Regions from separate parts of the Homo sapiens genome. Here region 1 is linked to region 2. The links are contacts of gene promoters, found by promoter capture Hi-C in human tissues and cell types (Jung and others, 2019). All regions are on one chromosome and are shown on one strand. The core of a region is centred on a gene start or on the middle of the fragment in contact, and the rest is flanking DNA. Distances in the headings are between cores, read along the strand shown. Region 1 has its middle 10 kb from the start of TNRC6B-DT. Region 2 holds the start of PDGFB (platelet derived growth factor subunit B).

Region 1 (4,913 bases), core at 198-2,697, 810 kb before region 2:
GCTGAGGCAGGAGAATCACTTGAACCCAGGAGGCGGAGGTTGCGACGAGCCGAGATGGTGCCATTGTACTCCAGCCTGGGCAACAAGAGCGAAACTCTGTCTCAAAAAAAAAAAAAAAAAACCTGGCATATTTTCAATGTACACATTTAATAAATCAACACCTTTAGGAAAAAAATTCAATGTAACTGTACTATTCACAAGAGGATTAATAAACATGTTCCCTTGTCATAAACCACAGATAGTGTTACCTGGTAAGAAGTTTAAAGGTATAATCAGTATCATCTTTCAATCCTGTGACTTTATCTCGACTGTTTACACCTACTATGTGCAAACCATTCTAGTGGGTGCCATGACAAAACAAAGTAGCATAAACTCATTTTGAGCTCAAGGTATCCAAGATGAGAACCCATGACGACTTCTTACTCTGTTGAGATACTACAAGGAACTTCCAATGAATATAGTCTACCTGTGCCCATGGGAGGAATCTGGTGGCCTTGCCCCATCAAATCTGCTACCATCTCTATTCAAGCAACTTCCATTTTTCTTTCTCCGCTGGGTGCTTCCTGTATATCTTTTAATAGATTATAGATTTTTCTTTCTTTTTTTTTTTTTTTTTGAGACAGGGTGTCACTCTGTCTCTCAGGCTGGAGTGTAGTGATGCAATCCTAGCTCACCGCAGCCTCCAACTCCTGGGCTCATGCAATCCTCCTGCCTCAGCCTTTTGAGTAGCTAGGACTACAGGCATGTGCCATCATGCTCAGTTGATGTTTAAAACATTTTTTGTAGAGATGGGGGTCTCACTATGTTGCTCAAGCTGGTCTCGAACTCCTGGCCTCAAGTGATCCTCTTACTCTGGCTTCCCAAAGTGCTGGGATTACAGGCATGAGCCACTGCACCCAGCCTGATTTTCTATCTTACTTAAAGGTGTTGCCTTCTCAACCTCGTCCTGCTTCCATTTTTCTCTGTCCTTTCTCTTCCAAACATCTTAAACTAAACTGCATTCATTACTACCATTCTCCCTATCATCACTTAGCTCCTTAGCCCTTTGTTATGTAGATCAAATACATACACAGAACTTGCAGAAATCGGCATTACCGTAAGTCAATTAACATCTTGTGAGTGTAATCAGCACTACCAGAGCATAATCACTTCTTCCCATTTGAAAAATATCAAGCTCTGAATATGCAAAGCTGAGAAACATTAGTTTAGCCAACAAGGTATGGACATCCTGCAACTGAAAGCAACTTAGCGGAAATAGAATGGAAGATGGCTAGAGATGGGGTGGATGGGGAAAGGAGACACTACTTAAGAGTAACAGGGAGAGAAAAATGGATAGGAGGAGACAGAAAAGGAAAGAGACATTGAAAACAAATAGGAGTAAATGAAGGAAAATGGGCTACATTTTTATCCAATTAATCTCCCTTTTTCAAATCTGGTTGAGAATTAAATTAGATTAATGTTAGCTCAGTGAACCACTTGGAGACTTGGAGATATGTAAAGACCTTCAAGCTGTAGGAACTGTCTTTCCCAGAACATATACCAGAGGCCCTTCTGGGTAGTCCTCTTTTCTGATTTCCTCTCTTTCACTGGTTCAGTGTCTGATCCATTTGAGATGGTATCAGCACTCACCTCAGGTGATCTAGAAGTCACTTCCTTTACACTCTCTGCTCCTACAGATAAGCTTAAATGAGTCACCACTTTCTAATTCCACCTAACATCATTTGCATGGTTATAGGTACACCACTGAAGCAAGTATATTAACTAGAAGTGACAAGTGCCGTTGTGGTTTATGATTATCTTCTCTGAATGGTACTCTATGCCTTTATGAATTCAAACATACAGATTCAGATCATTATTCTAAGGTCATTTCCTGTCCTAAACTGCAGTGGAGTAAGAGGCTGAGTCTGACATATCATGGTTCAACTGTAAGTCAGCTATTAGCCCTGTACCCTAATGCCAGCCTTGTAAAGCATACCGCTGTGCCGGTCATCTTCTCCACATACTAAAAACGCTCCCCCATGCCTCTACACAGGCTGTTCTCTCTGCCGGAAATGCCCTTTTCCTCCACAACTTAGTGTGAGTGTCACCTTCCCTGGGAAGGCTTTCTCAACCTCCCCATCGTGTTGATGACCTTCCTTTTCATCCCCGCAGCACCTCTTGTACTGTCTATTACAGCACTTATTACACTAAATGGCACTCATCTGTGTCCACATCTGTCTCACCCACCTGGCTGTGCATTCCTTGGGAACAAAGATCTCCTTTCGCCCCACCTCTGTAGTCCTGGCTCCTAGCACAGCATTCAGCATGTCTATGCATTCAAATGTTTAGTGAGAGCGTCATCATGTCAAGCCCAAGCATAATTTCTTTTCTTTTTTTGGAGACGGAGTCTTGTTCTGTCACCCAGGCTGGAGCTTAATGGTGCAATCTCAGCTCACTGCAACCTCTGCCTCCCGGGCTCAAGCAACCTTCCTGTATCAGCCTCCCGAGTAGCTGGGACTACTGGCGCGCACTACTACAACCAGCTAATTTTTTTTTTTTTTGTAGAGATGGGTTTCACCATGTCACCCAGGCTGGTCTCGAACTCCTGGACTCAAGTGACCTGCCTGCCTTGGCCTCCCAAAGTGCTGGCATTACATGCATGAGCCACCAAGCTTTGCCTAAAATGAGGTTTTTTAGAAATTCTATTTTAAATTCTCTTTCTTAACTTCATTTGAAAAAATATTTATTGAGGACCTACTATGTGCAACTCACAGTGCTAGATGTTGGTGACACAAATGTGAATAAAACAGAGTATTTTTATTCATGTAGCTATTTTCCAGAAGGGGAAATATAATATACAAATTAAATAATTATACAATTGATATCTTCTAATGTGGGGCGGGGTGATTAGGAAGTCATTAAAGAGGAGACACACACACTGAGCTCAGGATTGAAGAGGCATTAACTAAGGTTGGGCCTGCGGGCTTCCAGCTGTGAGAATAGTATGCTCAAGGAAGGGACCTTGGGTAGTGAAGAACACACATTTCCGGAACTTGAAGAGGGTCAGTATGGTGAGAGTACACTCAGCAAGGGGGAAGACAGTAGGAAAAGAGGCAGGGGACGCTGGCAGAAGCTTCACTGGGCAGTCAGTGAAAAAGGCAAGAACAAGAATTCAGGTTCTTATCAGGGTCTTTAGGCCTCACTGACAGTTTTGTTTTTGAGACAGGGTCTCACTCTGTCACCCACACTGGAGTGTGGTGGCGCAATCTCGGCTGACTGCAACCTCTGCCTCCAGGCTCAAGCTAGCCTCCCACCTCAGCCTCCTGAGTAGCTGGGACTACAGGCAGGCACCACCACGCCCAGCTAATTTTTGTATTTTTTGCAGAGACAGGGTTTTGCTATGTTGCCCAGGCTGGTCTTGACCTCCTGAGCTCAAGATATTCACCCACCTCAGCTTCCCAAAGTGCTGGGATTACAGGCACGAGCCTGTGCACCCAGTTATTAACAGTTTTAAGTAGGGGAGAAATATGATCAGATTTACACTTGCTTTTTAAGTAAATGTTTTAAATTAAGATATACACAGAACACATCTGTAGTTTTAAAAGATTATTCTCACTACAGTTTCAACAATTCTCTGAAGTAGAGAAGTTCCTACTTGCAAAAGAAAAAACTAAGACTCTGCAAAGCTAAGTAACTTACTTCAAGTTATTTATTTAACAAACATTTGAGTGTCTACGATATGACAGACACAGTACAGTATGTGCCTAGGGATGCAAAGATGACTACAATAGTCTCACTTAAGAAATTTGCAATCCAGCAGGAGAGACAGATTAAGAAACATGATATAATGTAGTCTATGTCAGAAATGAGTAAAGTCTAAGAGAACAGAGAGAAATTCAATCTTCCTAGGAAGAATTAACCATTTCACCTGTGTGTTAAAGGGGTATTTTTTTTTCCATACTGTAGTTTTTGAATTTTCAGTCATTCCTGCGCTTGGCACCCAGTATGCACTCAAGCAAATGTCAGCAATACAAATGAATCCAGGACTTTTGACTCCTAATTCAGAGACTCTCCAACTCTGCCCGAATTCTGGAAGACTTGCATTAATTACAATAATTATGGAACTATTTTGGAGCTCTACTTTTGAAGCTGCTTTCGGAGCCTGTTTATAAACCACAAAGAAAGTCAGTCTTATTAAAACTGTCAAACTTCATTAATGACCCAACCTGAAAATCCATAACAATATCTAAACATAGTTTTTTTTTTTTTTTTTTAAAGAAAATCTCCAAACACATCGAGTGGTATATGTTAAATACCTAAAGCTTTTAGTATGTCAGTCATACCTCAATAAGGTGGTTTGGGGGAAAAAGAAAGCACAAATCGACATTCAGAGGATGGTGAAATGCTCCCATGAAGACAACCAAGCAAATATACCATATACACCTTCGTAATTCATGATCTCTGTACTCAAAGGACTTACATTTCAGTTTCTAACTAGAAAGACAAAGCATAGCACATAAAAAGAATAAAAGAGAATAGAAGGTAACATTTGTTCATTTATTTAAAACATTTACACACTGCCTACTACTACACAACTGGTCAGAAACTGTTCTAGGGATACAAAGCGGGTAAGATAAATGCCTGCCTTCAAGAAACTCAGTCCTATGGGGAAGTCAACAATACACAGGCCAGACATGGTGGCTCACGCCTGTAATCCCAGCACTTTGGGAGGCTAAGGCAGGCAGATTGCTTGAGCCTGGGAGATCCAGACCAGCCTGGGCAACATAGTGAGACCTCATCTCTACAAAACATGAGCCAGGTGTGGAGGTGCGTGTCTGTAGTTCCAGCTGTTCAGGAGGCTGAGGTGGGAGGACTGCTTGAGCCCAGGAGATGGAGGTTGCAATGAGCCATGTTTATGCCACTGCACTCCGGCC
Region 2 (4,741 bases), core at 2,242-4,741:
ACTCAGTCTAGTGCTAGATTGATGATCAGGCCATGACGATGCCAGGTGTGCATGCTGTGGAGCCTGGAACAAGTGCCAAGCCTGGTGGGCCTTCTGGAGGAGGTGCCTGCTACACCCAGCCTGGCAGGAGGCAGACGATCAGGTGTTATTAAAAAAAAATTTTTAGGCTGGGTGTGGTGGTTCATGCCTGTAATCCCAGCACTTCGGGAGGCTGAGTGGGGCAGATCACTTGAGGTCAGGAGATCGAGAGCACCCTGGTCAACATGGTGAAACCGTCTCTACTAAAAATACAAAAATTAGCTGGGCATGGTGGCAGGCGCCTGTGGTCTCAGCTACTCGGGAGGCTGAGGCAGGAGAATCGCTTGAACCTGGGAGGCAGAGGTTGCAGTGAGAAGAGATCGCACCACGGCACTCCAGCCTCGGCGACAGACCGAGACCCCGTCTCTGAGATGGCTCACTGCAGTCTTGAACTCCTGGGCTCAGGGGATTCTCCCTCCTGACTCAGCCTCCTGAGTAGCTGGGGCCACACTCAGATATATATATATATATATATATATATATATATATATATATATATATATATTTTTTTTTTTTTTTTTTTTTTTTTTTGGTAATTTTTTTTAAGAGATGGGATCTCGCTATGTTGCTGAGGCTGGTCTCGAACTCCTGGCTGCACATGATCCTCTGGCCTCAGCCTCCCAAATTGCTGGGAATACAGGGGTGAGCCACCGTGCCTGGGGAGGTGTTCTTTACAGACTGTTCCTCTGCACAGAGAAGGTACAAGAAAGGAGCCCTTAGCACAACATTCAGGCCCAGGTGTCACGCAGGTGTCACGTAGCATTCAGGCCCAGGTGTCTGCTGGGCCCTCTTCTGCCACTTCTAACCCATGTACTGGCACCTGCACTGCAATGATTTGGGTCTATCTCACTGAGAGCATGGGAAGTCCCTGAGTGCCGAGGCTGGGACTCCTTCCTCATTCCATTTCTCAGCGCTTCACACAGGGTCTGCAAACAGTAGGCGTTCTACGATGCTGCTCTGAGTAGCCTTCCCTCTCCCTCAACTTGTACCTAAGTCAGAGTTCATATGGGTCCATCACTTTTTAGCTGGCAGAGCAGGTTCCCACATATTAATGCATGTGGCGCTCACCAAAGCGCTGTGTCAAAAGTGTCATCATTGTCATCAGCATCACCTGCCAGAAAATTGCACAGCACGGTGGTCTCAGCATGTGGGCTCTGTAGCTGGACTGCTCAGATTCAAGTCCTGGCCTTACCACTTACGGGCTGTGTGACCTTGAACAAGTGTATTGGCCTCTCTGTGCTTCCATTTCCCCATCTGTAAGATAGGAATAACACATCTCACAGGAGCATGGAGAGGCTACAGGTAGAGTAAGAAAAACACTAGCTACCACATAGTCAGCTCACTAATCATGGTAGTTGTTACCATTCTATTTATAGAAGACACAGAAGGTCAAGGTCAAATGACCCAGCTGTCCGGTGGAAGAGGGTTTTTATCTCTGAGTCGTTAGACTTCAAATCTAGTGTTTGGGGGTTATCTCCTCGTCCCGCTGCCCCATCTCCCTTGTCACCCTGTCTCCTAATTTATCTGTTTATACATCTGGTTGTCCTTCTCAATGGGGCTCTTCAAAGGCAGGGGCCTGCATTAGGCTGGTTCACACCTGTCTCCCCAGTGCCTGGAGCAGTGCGGGGCCACCAGTGAACTTGAAGGCTGCATGGAAGGTTCCAGGCGCTTGCTTCCTGCTAAGGTGTTTTGCTGAGCGCCTCCACATGGAGGACCTCATGGGAGCCTCCAGACCACTCCAGGAGCAGGGTAAAAATTCTCTACAACTGCACTGAGGTACAACAAACTGCACACATTTTGTTGTGATGTACGTATACACCCATAAGCCCATCACCACAATCAAAAATGACAAACATTTCCATCACCACTAAAATTTTGCCATGCCTCTCTGTTCTCTCTCACTCCTTCCCATTATAGATTTATTTTTATTTCTTTAGAGATAGGGTCTTGCTCTGTTGCCCAGGCTGGAGTGCAGTGGCACAGTCACAACTCACTGCAGCCTCAAACTCCTGGGCTCAAAACGATCCACAGTCTCCTGAGTAGCTGGGACTACAGGAGCTTGTTACCACACCCAGCTCCAGTTTATAAATTCATCTCCAGTTTATAAAGGAGGAAACCGAGGTACTGAGAGGTTAAAAAACCTTCCTGCAGACACTTGTCCAGCAAGTGGCCACTCCAGGATTTGGACCAAGGTGATGTGTCTTCAGGCTGTGTCTCTGCCACTGTGCCACGCTGCTGGGTGGTAGGCAGCAGTGGGTGGGTGCCTGCAGTGGTCTGTAAAGACCACCTGAGATGTCCTTCCTCCTCTGTTCCACCCTGTCCAGGTCCAAGAAGACAGTCTATGAAGAGAGAGCAGGTGTGACTCTCTCAGTGTGCTCCTCTGTGAGAAGCAGGCTGACATCCCAAAGGGAAGGGCGGATAACAGAGACAGTGCAAGCGGAGGAGATGAGGGTGCCTCAAAGCCGGGAGGCTGGGTGATGCAGGAGCCTGCGTGTCCCGAGGGGGGTGCTGGGCCCAGTGTGAGTACGTGTGACTGTGACTGAGACAGTGTGACTGCTGAAGGCAGGGACACAGCAGCTCCCTGACTGGGGGCAGAAGGCGTTAACTGTGTGAAGGCTGGTTGTGGGTGGGTGGGCTCTGGGCCTCGAACCCGGGGGCTGAGGGAGATAGTAAACAGCAGGGTGACTGACGGGAAGATCATGTTGGTAGCCCTGCGAAGATGCTGCAGGGCTGTGGGGGTTTGTGTGACTTTGCAGTTCAACAAATTCAAATTCAGCCAACGCTGGCAGGGCCTGTTGTGCCAGGCAACCAGCTAGGAGGAGGAGACTCGGACCCAGCTTGCAGCTGAAGGGCGCTGGCTGCCGGGTTCTGTGGGTTCACCTTGCGGTGTCTTCCCTTGCTAACACTGAGTCCTTACAATAGCCCCATCTCCAGGTTGAGGCTAGATGGAGGGGACAGAGGGAAGTGACTTGCCCAAGGTGACCCAAGCTCCCGAGTGCCAGGGCAGGATCTGAATTCAGGCTCTCAGACTGCAGAGCCTGAGTCCCTCCCTGCCATGCCTGTGCCAGGGTGGAAATGTCTGGTCCTGGAGGGGAGCGTGGACTCCTGGCCTTGGCTCTGGAGACATCCCCCTAGACCACGTGGGCTCCTAACCTGTCCATGGTCACTGTGCTGAGGGGCGGGACGGTGGGTCACCCCTAGTTCTTTTTTCCCCAGGGCCAGATTCATGGACTGAAGGGTTGCTCGGCTCTCAGAGACCCCCTAAGCGCCCCGCCCTGGCCCCAAGCCCTCCCCCAGCTCCCGCGTCCCCCCCCTCCTGGCGCTGACTCCGGGCCAGAAGAGGAAAGGCTGTCTCCACCCACCTCTCGCACTCTCCCTTCTCCTTTATAAAGGCCGGAACAGCTGAAAGGGTGGCAACTTCTCCTCCTGCAGCCGGGAGCGGCCTGCCTGCCTCCCTGCGCACCCGCAGCCTCCCCCGCTGCCTCCCTAGGGCTCCCCTCCGGCCGCCAGCGCCCATTTTTCATTCCCTAGATAGAGATACTTTGCGCGCACACACATACATACGCGCGCAAAAAGGAAAAAAAAAAAAAAAAGCCCACCCTCCAGCCTCGCTGCAAAGAGAAAACCGGAGCAGCCGCAGCTCGCAGCTCGCAGCTCGCAGCCCGCAGCCCGCAGAGGACGCCCAGAGCGGCGAGCGGGCGGGCAGACGGACCGACGGACTCGCGCCGCGTCCACCTGTCGGCCGGGCCCAGCCGAGCGCGCAGCGGGCACGCCGCGCGCGCGGAGCAGCCGTGCCCGCCGCCCGGGCCCCGCGCCAGGGCGCACACGCTCCCGCCCCCCTACCCGGCCCGGGCGGGAGTTTGCACCTCTCCCTGCCCGGGTGCTCGAGCTGCCGTTGCAAAGCCAACTTTGGAAAAAGTTTTTTGGGGGAGACTTGGGCCTTGAGGTGCCCAGCTCCGCGCTTTCCGATTTTGGGGGCCTTTCCAGAAAATGTTGCAAAAAAGCTAAGCCGGCGGGCAGAGGAAAACGCCTGTAGCCGGCGAGTGAAGACGAACCATCGACTGCCGTGTTCCTTTTCCTCTTGGAGGTTGGAGTCCCCTGGGCGCCCCCACACGGCTAGACGCCTCGGCTGGTTCGCGACGCAGCCCCCCGGCCGTGGATGCTCACTCGGGCTCGGGATCCGCCCAGGTAGCGGCCTCGGACCCAGGTCCTGCGCCCAGGTCCTCCCCTGCCCCCCAGCGACGGAGCCGGGGCCGGGGGCGGCGGCGCCCGGGGGCCATGCGGGTGAGCCGCGGCTGCAGAGGCCTGAGCGCCTGATCGCCGCGGACCCGAGCCGAGCCCACCCCCCTCCCCAGCCCCCCACCCTGGCCGCGGGGGCGGCGCGCTCGATCTACGCGTCCGGGGCCCCGCGGGGCCGGGCCCGGAGTCGGCATGAATCGCTGCTGGGCGCTCTTCCTGTCTCTCTGCTGCTACCTGCGTCTGGTCAGCGCCGAGGTGAGTTGCCACGGCGGCTGGGGCTGGTTCTTCATTCATTACCTTCGCCCCCCCCTTCTGACCGCCCCCTCCTCTCCCTGCAGTGAACTTTGGACCCTTGCAGCCCGCGAGCCTGACGCCGGGCGCTGGGTGACCTCTTCGGGCTGGGAGCGAGGTCCGGGGGTGACAG

What was found. The method cuts DNA at HindIII sites, captures the fragments that hold promoters and counts their contacts. A contact is called where the count stands out against the background at its distance.
Region 1: a fragment that was not itself captured here is called in contact with the fragment with the promoter of PDGFB in region 2 in 1 of the 25 tissues and cell types used here (lymphoblastoid cells).

Annotation. Positions count from the first base shown.
Region 1 is chr22:40,052,501-40,057,413 of GRCh38, reverse strand. It overlaps a transcript of TNRC6B not described here. Among named protein-coding and RNA genes, the nearest start is that of TNRC6B-DT, 10 kb to the right of the region's middle. The HindIII fragment of the contact is 4,520 bases long and covers 1-3,707 here.
Region 2 is chr22:39,243,732-39,248,472 of GRCh38, reverse strand. It overlaps PDGFB (platelet derived growth factor subunit B), which reads left to right and starts at 3,491. Exons shown (of 7, transcript NM_002608.4): 1 at 3,491-4,572. The coding sequence starts at 4,510. The HindIII fragment of the contact is 11,810 bases long and covers 1-4,741 here.